2 separate regions of the Homo sapiens genome follow, and region 2 is linked to region 1. The links are contacts of gene promoters, found by promoter capture Hi-C in human tissues and cell types (Jung and others, 2019). All regions are on one chromosome and are shown on one strand. Each heading gives the region's core, a stretch centred on a gene start or on the middle of the fragment in contact. The rest is flanking DNA. Distances are from core to core; before and after follow the strand shown. Region 1 holds the start of ADIPOR2 (adiponectin receptor 2). Region 2 overlaps DCP1B (decapping mRNA 1B).

Region 1 (4,221 bases), core at 1,050-3,549:
AATATATAAAGTTTAGTAACTGAAGTATGGTCAGGGAGAGGGCCTGAAAATTCTGCTTTGGAATATTTAATGGTGACATTTAGATAAGGGTTAAGGGTGAAGCCAGCCTTATGGATGTGGGGATCAGGGGAATGTTCCTCAGGTGCTCAGGTCAGGGACAGTGGCAACATCCTCAATAGTTAAGGAGGTGTGGGTATTTTGAGGAAATGATGTGGTTTGTTTCATCACTATATAAGCATCAGGAACTGGCAGTAGTGATATGTGAATGGGATCAAGGTAACCGAGAACAAGATGTGAAACTTTAGGGAAATGGTAAGTCTGTCTTTCATCTGGTTCAGCACACGGTGAACTGTTCCAGAGGTAGCTTCTTAAAGCCCTTCGTTTTGTCAAACCAGAATCTTTTTTTTTTTTTTTTTTGAGACAGAGTCTTGCTCTGTCACACAGGCTGGAGTGCAGTGGCACGGTCTCAGCTCACTGCAACCTCTGCCTCTCAGGTTCAAGTGATTCTCCTGCCTCAGCCTCCAGAGTACCTGGGATTACAGGCACGCGCGACCATGCTTGGCTAATTTTTTGTATTTTTGTAGAGACGGGGTTTCGCCATGTTGGCCAGGCTGGTTTTGAACTCCTGACCTCAAGTGATCTGCCCATCTCGGCCTCCCAAAGTGCTAGGATTACAGGTGTGAGCCACCACGCTTGGCCTGGAAACCAGTCTTTAAGAGAAAGGGATGCAGGAAAGATTGGAGATCTTTGAAGAATCTCTTTTTAAGAAAATTATCTTTTTCGCTCTAGTTCTGTCACCTTTAGTAGACTCTTTATTAAGCCTAAGAATCTTATACTTCTTATCTCTGTTCTATGTGAGTTGGTATAACGGGTCAAATTCACAATCCAGAAATGCCTGTATTGTTTCTGATGTGCTGAGGAGGTGTACAATTGTCTTCCTTGATTTCAACCTCAAAAGCTTTACATCTTTACCTGGGAACATAGAAGTCATTATTATTATGTCTTTCACAAATTATGTAAACTTAAAAAAATTATATTTTCAATGTAAACCACTCCTTGGAGGAAATTAGTTCCTTTAACATTTATTTCCTAATTTTAATTTCTACTAGTTTTATCTCTTTCAAGCTTAAATGAGTGGGCCTTAGTTCTGTATTATTGCCATCTTAATCATGTTCTTTGTGATTTTAGTAGCTTTACTTTTTAAAACTTACATTTCCATAATGAAGACTTCTGTATTTTTGTTTTTTTCGTCATATATCCGACTCCAGCTCCCTCAAGACCTGTCAGCTTTTCCCTGCACCCTTTGTTATCTCTTGCTGTGGTCCAAAGGTAAGGACAGTAAGCCGTGGGCACAGACTTTCCCTAAATCGTATGGATTTCCTTTAGTCAATAACAAGAATTTTGATAGTTAAGGCATTTACGCCTTAAGAATGTGATAAATTCCCCCTCCTACTGAATGTAAAGAACTATTTTTCTACGCAGACTAACTCTTATATTCACTTTTCTTATAGAATAAGTACGTAACCAAATCTGTTCTTGGCTTCTAAGAAGTTAGAACTCAACGTAAAGATGACTTGTGGAAAATTACTTACTCATTCTGGGTAAATGGACGCAGGTATTTAGTGCTTAAGTAGGTTCTGATATACCATTACATTAACATCATTTTAAAAATCGCTCTGAATTATATGTATTTTAAGAGTGACTGGGTTTTAAAAAAAATAGAAGTGGTAGAGCATAAATCATAATCTTTAATAAGGTAATAAAAGGCAAACACTATTGCTCTGGGCAAAACTGGGCTAATGCTTTTGGATTTCTTTCCGCAGTCTTCACAGACGACGCTCAGCATCCTATCAGCCCTTGGCAGAGACACACGATCCAGCCTAAATCCTCAAATTCTGGCTCTTGCCCAAAGTGTGTAGCCAGTATCCATAGAGACTGCGAAAAGCATCCGCGAGCCGGGGCGGCCCCCTCCTCCTCAGCTCCAAATTGCTTCCTTTTTCGGTGGGAGAAAAAACTCCGAGGAGTTGTGTGAGCGCCTAAGGAGCGCACGCTCCTCCGGCCCTCAACACCCAGTATAGTTTTCGCTAAGTTCCTGGCCGAACCACAGCTCCCACGATGCACCCAGGTTTTAGAGCGGTCAGAGGGGCGGCTTCCGGTTTAGGACAGCGCGGCTGCGCACGGCGTGTGGTCTTATTGGCTCGAACCGCCTCGTGCGATGCGCGTCACGGCGACGTGCGGTCGTGGGGGCGGGGAGACGCGGCGGCGGCGGTCGCTGTCGCGGCGGCGAGAGCGCGATTCCAGAAGCGGCATCGCGGCGGCGGCAGCGGCGGCGGCTACACCGGGCTTGGCCCCCTCCCTCCTCCGTTCCCCCCTCCTCCCCCCTCCCCTCAGCGGTGGCTCCCAAGAAGTCCGAGACACGCGGTGAGGCGGCGACGGGCTCCGGGTGAGGGTCTCTGGAGTGTGGGCGCCGTTTCCTGGGCGCAGAGGGAGAGCTTGGGGTCGGGGGGAGGTGAGAGCTGAGGGGCGAATGTCCCTGGCGCGGGCGGGAGAGCGCGCTCTCGGCCCGGCCCGCAACTTGATTCCTAACTCTGACCTGCCGCCCGGCGCGCCTTGGCCTGAGGGTCGGCCGTGTGGGGACCTGGAGCCGCCCTCCTTGCGACCGCTGTCGGAGGAGTCCGGCGCCCGCTGTTCCCCTCGCCTCGCCTTTCGCGGCGGAGGGTCGGAGCCTGCTGCCCTCTGCTCACCTTCGGGTGCAGTTGCTCCAGCTCCCTGCCCGCGGAGAGGATCTGCCCGCCCCTCTTCGTCTCTTGTCTGTTTTTATCACTTCTAGGAATTTGTTTGGTGGAGGCTTGGGATGGGCTCTCTCAGCGCTACTTTCACAGTGACTGGGGTGGGGAAGAGTTCCCTCACCTTTTTCAGGTGGCGCGTCAGGCAGCCTGCTTGGTACCTGGAGTCCTGTTTTCCCAAGCCCCCGTCCGTCAGTGTTCGCTTCTTCTAAAATTACCGATGACAGGGTTATAAATCAGTTTTTAGGGGGCTCGGAGAGAGTTTGGGTTGGAAACTGTTAGCTCTTTTTTCCTCCTGGCTTTTGATCTTGATTTAAGCGTTTGCCTCTGAAATTTTGACAACTTCATAAGATGGTCCAAAAGTGAATTTTGGTAGAAAGATTTAAATGCACAGTTGGGATTTTATGGGGGTACGGTGACTTCATTGCAGGTTGTTGACTTTTTTTTTAAAATAAGATGTTCTTTTAATTTTTTGACTCTGGGTTTCTGAGCCTTGGTTATTGTCCCCCATTTCTGTTCCAAAAGCAGACTTTTTTTTTTTTTATCACCCCTTCCCCTCACCCAGAGAATCCCTTTAAACGCCAAGAAAGCTGTCATAACATTTAGCATTATTTGATCACAGAACTTTTCCAAATGAAATGCTAAAAATTCCTTCAGAAAAAAGCATCCATCTACCCATAGCATTATTTTTTGGGGGGAGGCTATACGTCTTGTCAGTTCTGAAAGTTTGAAGTGACCTCTTATCAAAGGCCACCCTTATGTCTCCTTAAACGACTCTTAGGTAATTCCTAGATGTTTTCATCCGTTCTGATAAATTTGTTGTCAGAGTGTTGATTGTGATGATCTGCAACTAAAATTATTTCATCAGTAAAGATTTCCACACATGTGGCAGCTGCTTGTTGGTGAATTATGAAATTTGAAAAAATTGCAAATTAAATGTGAAAGGCATATTTCTTTTAACTTCTGATTGTAACTGTCTGTCCTCCAGTATACGTTCCTATCTAGACTTTGGTCTGCTTAGCAGATTTCCTCTTTTCACTTGACACTAGGAATGGGAGTAGGATTTCCAGAGCCTAAAAGAGAGTTTGTTTTTTTTTTCTATCCCTAGGCTCCTTGTATGAATTTATAAATAAATGGTTTTTTCTATCAATAGTATCAATTTAGCTGGTGCACTTTTTTTTTTTAGTATAAATCACATTTTGTTTCCTAAAATGAAAATAATTTTGTTTTATTCTTTATTTCAGGGATTGACAGATTTTAAAGCCTGCAGGCCCAGTCCTGCCAGTTGCCTCTTTTTGTAAATAAAGATTTGATTAGGCCTGGTGCGATCGCTCACGCTGGTAATCCCAGCACTTTGGGAGGTCGAGGCGGGCAGATAACCTGAGATCAGGAGTTTGAGACCAGCTTGGCCAACATGGTGAAACCCCGTCCCTAT
Region 2 (4,221 bases), core at 1,156-3,655, 290 kb after region 1:
TGAAACTATTTACTAAATGATTTTTGGACAAAAATTAGTAATATAAAACACAGAATCTAAAAGAATACACATTATATAGCCATAATGACCACTTACTATAGATAAAGGGTAGGGAAACTAAAAGATGCTTTCCTTATTAAGCATTTAAGAAAATGTTTTGGAACCCAGCTTTTCTCTGCCAAGAATTTAGACTTCCACCATGCTAAACTGGGCTCTCTTAAACACAAAACATAAAATACACTGCATGTCCAAGCCACAGATGCAGCGTATCAATCTGAATAGCATTACTATGTTTTCTTGGTCAAGCTGAGAACCTTAATAGTCTTTATGGTTTAGGATAAAACAAGTGACTTTACTTTGTAGCAGCTGTAAATCACCATATATGACTTTGCCACATGGGTTTTTCCTCACCTCAGCATGTCAGATTGTTAAGTTACATAAGAAATGTATATATTCACATGAAGGTTCTCTCCGTGAGTCCCCTGGCAGTTATGATGGAGAAGTAGAAACTGTGTTAATTGGATGGTCAGGGTGAAGAGAAGGGTTGTTTACTCACACTGTGTATCTGCTTATGTGTGTGTTTCAAGGAACTATCTGGTGTCACAACTCAACACACAGAAAAATAGAAATACGAAATCCAGAGATACCACAAGGCTCAAGAGTGAAATTCTGCTTTACTTGAGATTTTTCAGAGCCTTTCTTTAGATGGATAGTTTTCTTTAGAGTTTAGATCCCTTCCTTTCAGCCTAAGTGGAGTACTGACAGAGAACAAAAAAGTCATTTTGGATTAAAGGTCACAGTGACAAGTTTCATCACTCAAGTCACAGTAGACGTATAACCCTTTATCATATATTAACATGTTAGCTCTCTAAGCAATGGTGCATAATAAATAGATCAATTTTTCAGTCGGAATGGCAAAGGAGACTTAGAGACACAAAGTAAGATTCAGTGACCACATTATGATTTTTAAATTTTGGTGGCTCTTCTTTCTTTCTCATTAAATGCAGGCTTAAAAGGAGTCCTTGAAAGTTTCTAATTCAACCAACCACTCCTCTCACATACAGTAAAAGAGCCTCAAGACTGTATAGGTTACCTATTCTGACTAAATATGAAATGTCAAATTCCTCGGCTCCCATTCCTCACTGCTCATGATGTGAATGAGTCTACTTTAAGGTCTTGTCTTCCTGGGCAGATCCCGAAGAGAAATGTATTCTGTTATTCCTGCAAATACTAAGTTTTTGCCTAGTAAGAATGTCAAGTATTTTTAGCCATATAGTTACTTTAAATATTAGTTTCTTGACCCTAGAGAGCTTTAGGGGTTCAATAAAATCCCTAAAACTATATGCAAAATGTCATGTATATATGCAAATTTTGGGAGGTGAAAAAGTGCAAAGCATAGACCCTCTAAAACAATGTCTGGCACACAGCAGTCAAGCAAATATATTTGAGGAAAGGGGGAGAGGGAGGGAGGGAGGGGGAGGAAGGAAAGTAGGAAGTAAAGAAGGAAGAAATGAAGGAAAAAAGGGAAGAAGAAAAGTCTTCAGATTCTCATAGGGGTTTGTGACTCACAGAAGATTAGGAACTACTATTTGCGACTATCAATATGCCAATAAATATCCTAGAATGGAAAACAACCCTCAGTTATCTCTGGGCAGATAATGTGTCTTTCATTTACTTGGTAATAAATTTACACAGAGTTCACTTTTAACTTTCCAGATTGCTTTTGTAATCACTGCCTAAACTGATTGCAAGGTTAAGAAAAGACGTAACAAAGTCTCCAAGTCTTAGAATTTGTTAAGTTGGAAGAGCTTTTATTCCTCCATGTAGCCTGAAGCCTAGGAGAAAGCTTAAAAAGCACAGATCTGTTAGCATGCTCGGCCATGATGAGGGTGAATCACACAGTTCAGCTGTGGCTACTGGTTTGCCTTCGTTGGAGAGGTGTCATTCTCCGTCTCTACCATGAAGTGGGAAACAGGAAGACATTTTGGAAAGCTCGACAACTTTGTGACTCCTGCTTGATCACTCCAAGCAGCGTATCTTCAAAGCTTTGTCTTATGCATTCTGATGTTCCAGATGCCACACAAAATCATCAGATACACATATACACATATAACAATTCTAGAATATAAGTGATTTGCGAATTTTGTTAAGTACACTGTACATGTCTATTTCTTATCTAAATCTGTTTATTTCCTGTGTTTATTTGGCACCACAGAATATAAGTAAAATATAAGATATGGTCTTTGCCCATAAGGGGCCTGTAATTTATTATCCATACCACTGCCTTCTCAATAGCCTAGATAATTAGCAACCAATTAATTAATGGTAACATAGTGGCAGAGAAAACGTTTTACAAAATGCATTCTAAGTATAGTGAGCAATATTGTTTCCAAATTATGACTCATCATTGTTCTCTAAATTTGACTTTCTTACTGCTATTATTTACTATGGGTATATACAGGTACACTTTAACTTTGGAGCTTTGGAAGACAATCAAGTTTATACTTCATAAGATGTTCTATAATAGCCACCAAGAAAATATCTACTATTATATTTTTAAACTGTATTGTTTTTATATGTTTCATTCTAGAGAAAGCACTGCAGAATAATGCTAAGGCTCCTCTTTGCTAGGAAATTGACATTTAAAAAAATTGACTCTCAAGAGAGAAGTGGAAGGTTAATTCCTTCCACTCAGGAAAAATATTAAGTTATACGGTTTCCATATTTTTGGCAAAGAGAAATCTTGCTTCTCTGACCATGGGGAGAAAGCAGATGTCGCAACCCAGAGAAAGGGGGCATAGCCTTCTCACTGATCTGGAAACTAGAAATGCAGACTCAACTATTTCTATTACCTCACATTACTTGGGGCTTTCAGTTGACATCAAGCTTTTGGTATTATGTTGGTTTAAAGTACTGAAGATGTGTTTTAGAACAAGGACTGCTTTATTTCCAGGTTGAAAAAGCCAAGACGCAAAGTAATAAAGAGTTAGTGTAATATTCTAACCAACACAGCAGAGATCAGGGTTAGCAGAAACACTGGTTAATAAATGTCAGGAAAATAAAGAAGGGTAAAAAATTATCCTTAAATTTTCATTTATTTAAATACTTCTTTTATAAGGTTCAATTATTTCTACTTTCTTACATTGAAGAATCATTTATGTACAAGAAAATGCACAGATCTTAAAGTGTTCTGCTCAGTGAGTTGGCAATAAAACACTCTTATGTAACCAACACTGAAAACAAGATATAAAATATTTTTATCACTCTTTTCCAGTCAACAACCACACCCCACTTCCACCACCAGCCCCAGCAGAGACAACCAATTTTTTACTTCTATCACCCTAGATTAGTTTTGCCTGTTCTTCAACTTCATATAAACTTCATATAAATGGGGTCGTACAGTATATCCTCTTTTGTAGATGGCTTGCTTTGCTCAACATGTTTCTGAAATTAATTCATGTTGTTGAATATATCAGTAGTTCATTTCTTCTTATCGCTGAGTAGTGTTCTATTATTATATACCAAAATTTGTTCATCTATGTAACTATTAATGGGTATCCAGGTTATTACCAGAGTTTTTTGCTATTATGAATAAAACTGCTTTGAGCATTTGTGTAAAAGTCTTTGTGTGGACATGTGCTTTCGGAGTCTCACTCTGTCACCCAGGCTGGAGTGCAATGGCGCGATCTTGGCTCACTGCTGCAACCTCCGCCTCCCGCGTTCAAGAAATTCTCCTGCCTCAGGCTCCCAAGTGGCTGGGATTACACGTGCCCGCCATCGAGCCTGGCTAATTTTTTTTATTTTTAGTAGAGATGGGGTTTCGCCATGTTGGCCAGGCTGGTCTCAAACTCCTGACCTCAGGTGATCCGCCTGCTTCGGCCTCCCAAAGTGTTGGGATTACAAGCGTGAGCCACAGCGCCTGGATTTTTTGTTTGTTTGTCTTTGAGACGGAGTCTGGCTTCATCGCCCAGGCTGGAGTGCAGTGGTGCCATCTTGGCTCACTACAACCTCCACCTTCAGGGTTCAAGTGATCCTGCCTTGGCCTCCCCAGTAGCTGGGATCACAGGGGCCTGCCACCATGCCTGGCTAATTTTTGTATTTTTAGTAGAGAGGGGGTTTCACCATGTTGGCCAGGCTCGTCTCGAACTCCTGACCTCAAGTGATCCGCCCGCCTCAGCCTCCCATAGTGTTGGGATTACAGGCGTGAGCCACCGTGCCCAG

The links. The method cuts DNA at HindIII sites, captures the fragments that hold promoters and counts their contacts. A contact is called where the count stands out against the background at its distance.
Region 2: a contact is called between a fragment that was not itself captured here and the fragment with the promoter of ADIPOR2 in region 1, in 2 of the 25 tissues and cell types used here (aorta and heart left ventricle).

Annotation. Positions count from the first base shown.
Region 1 is chr12:1,688,771-1,692,991 of GRCh38, forward strand. ADIPOR2 (adiponectin receptor 2) reads left to right here and starts at 2,300. Exons shown (of 8, transcript NM_024551.3): 1 at 2,300-2,421. RefSeq lists enhancers at 1,803-1,962, 1,983-2,032, 2,116-2,694 and silencers at 2,193-2,492, 2,513-2,602. The HindIII fragment of the contact is 10,259 bases long and covers 1-3,477 here.
Region 2 is chr12:1,975,389-1,979,609 of GRCh38, forward strand. The region is part of intron 3 of DCP1B (decapping mRNA 1B); the gene reads right to left. It also overlaps a transcript of CACNA1C not described here. Among named protein-coding and RNA genes, the nearest start is that of DCP1B, 27 kb to the right of the region's middle. The HindIII fragment of the contact is 3,462 bases long and covers 675-4,136 here.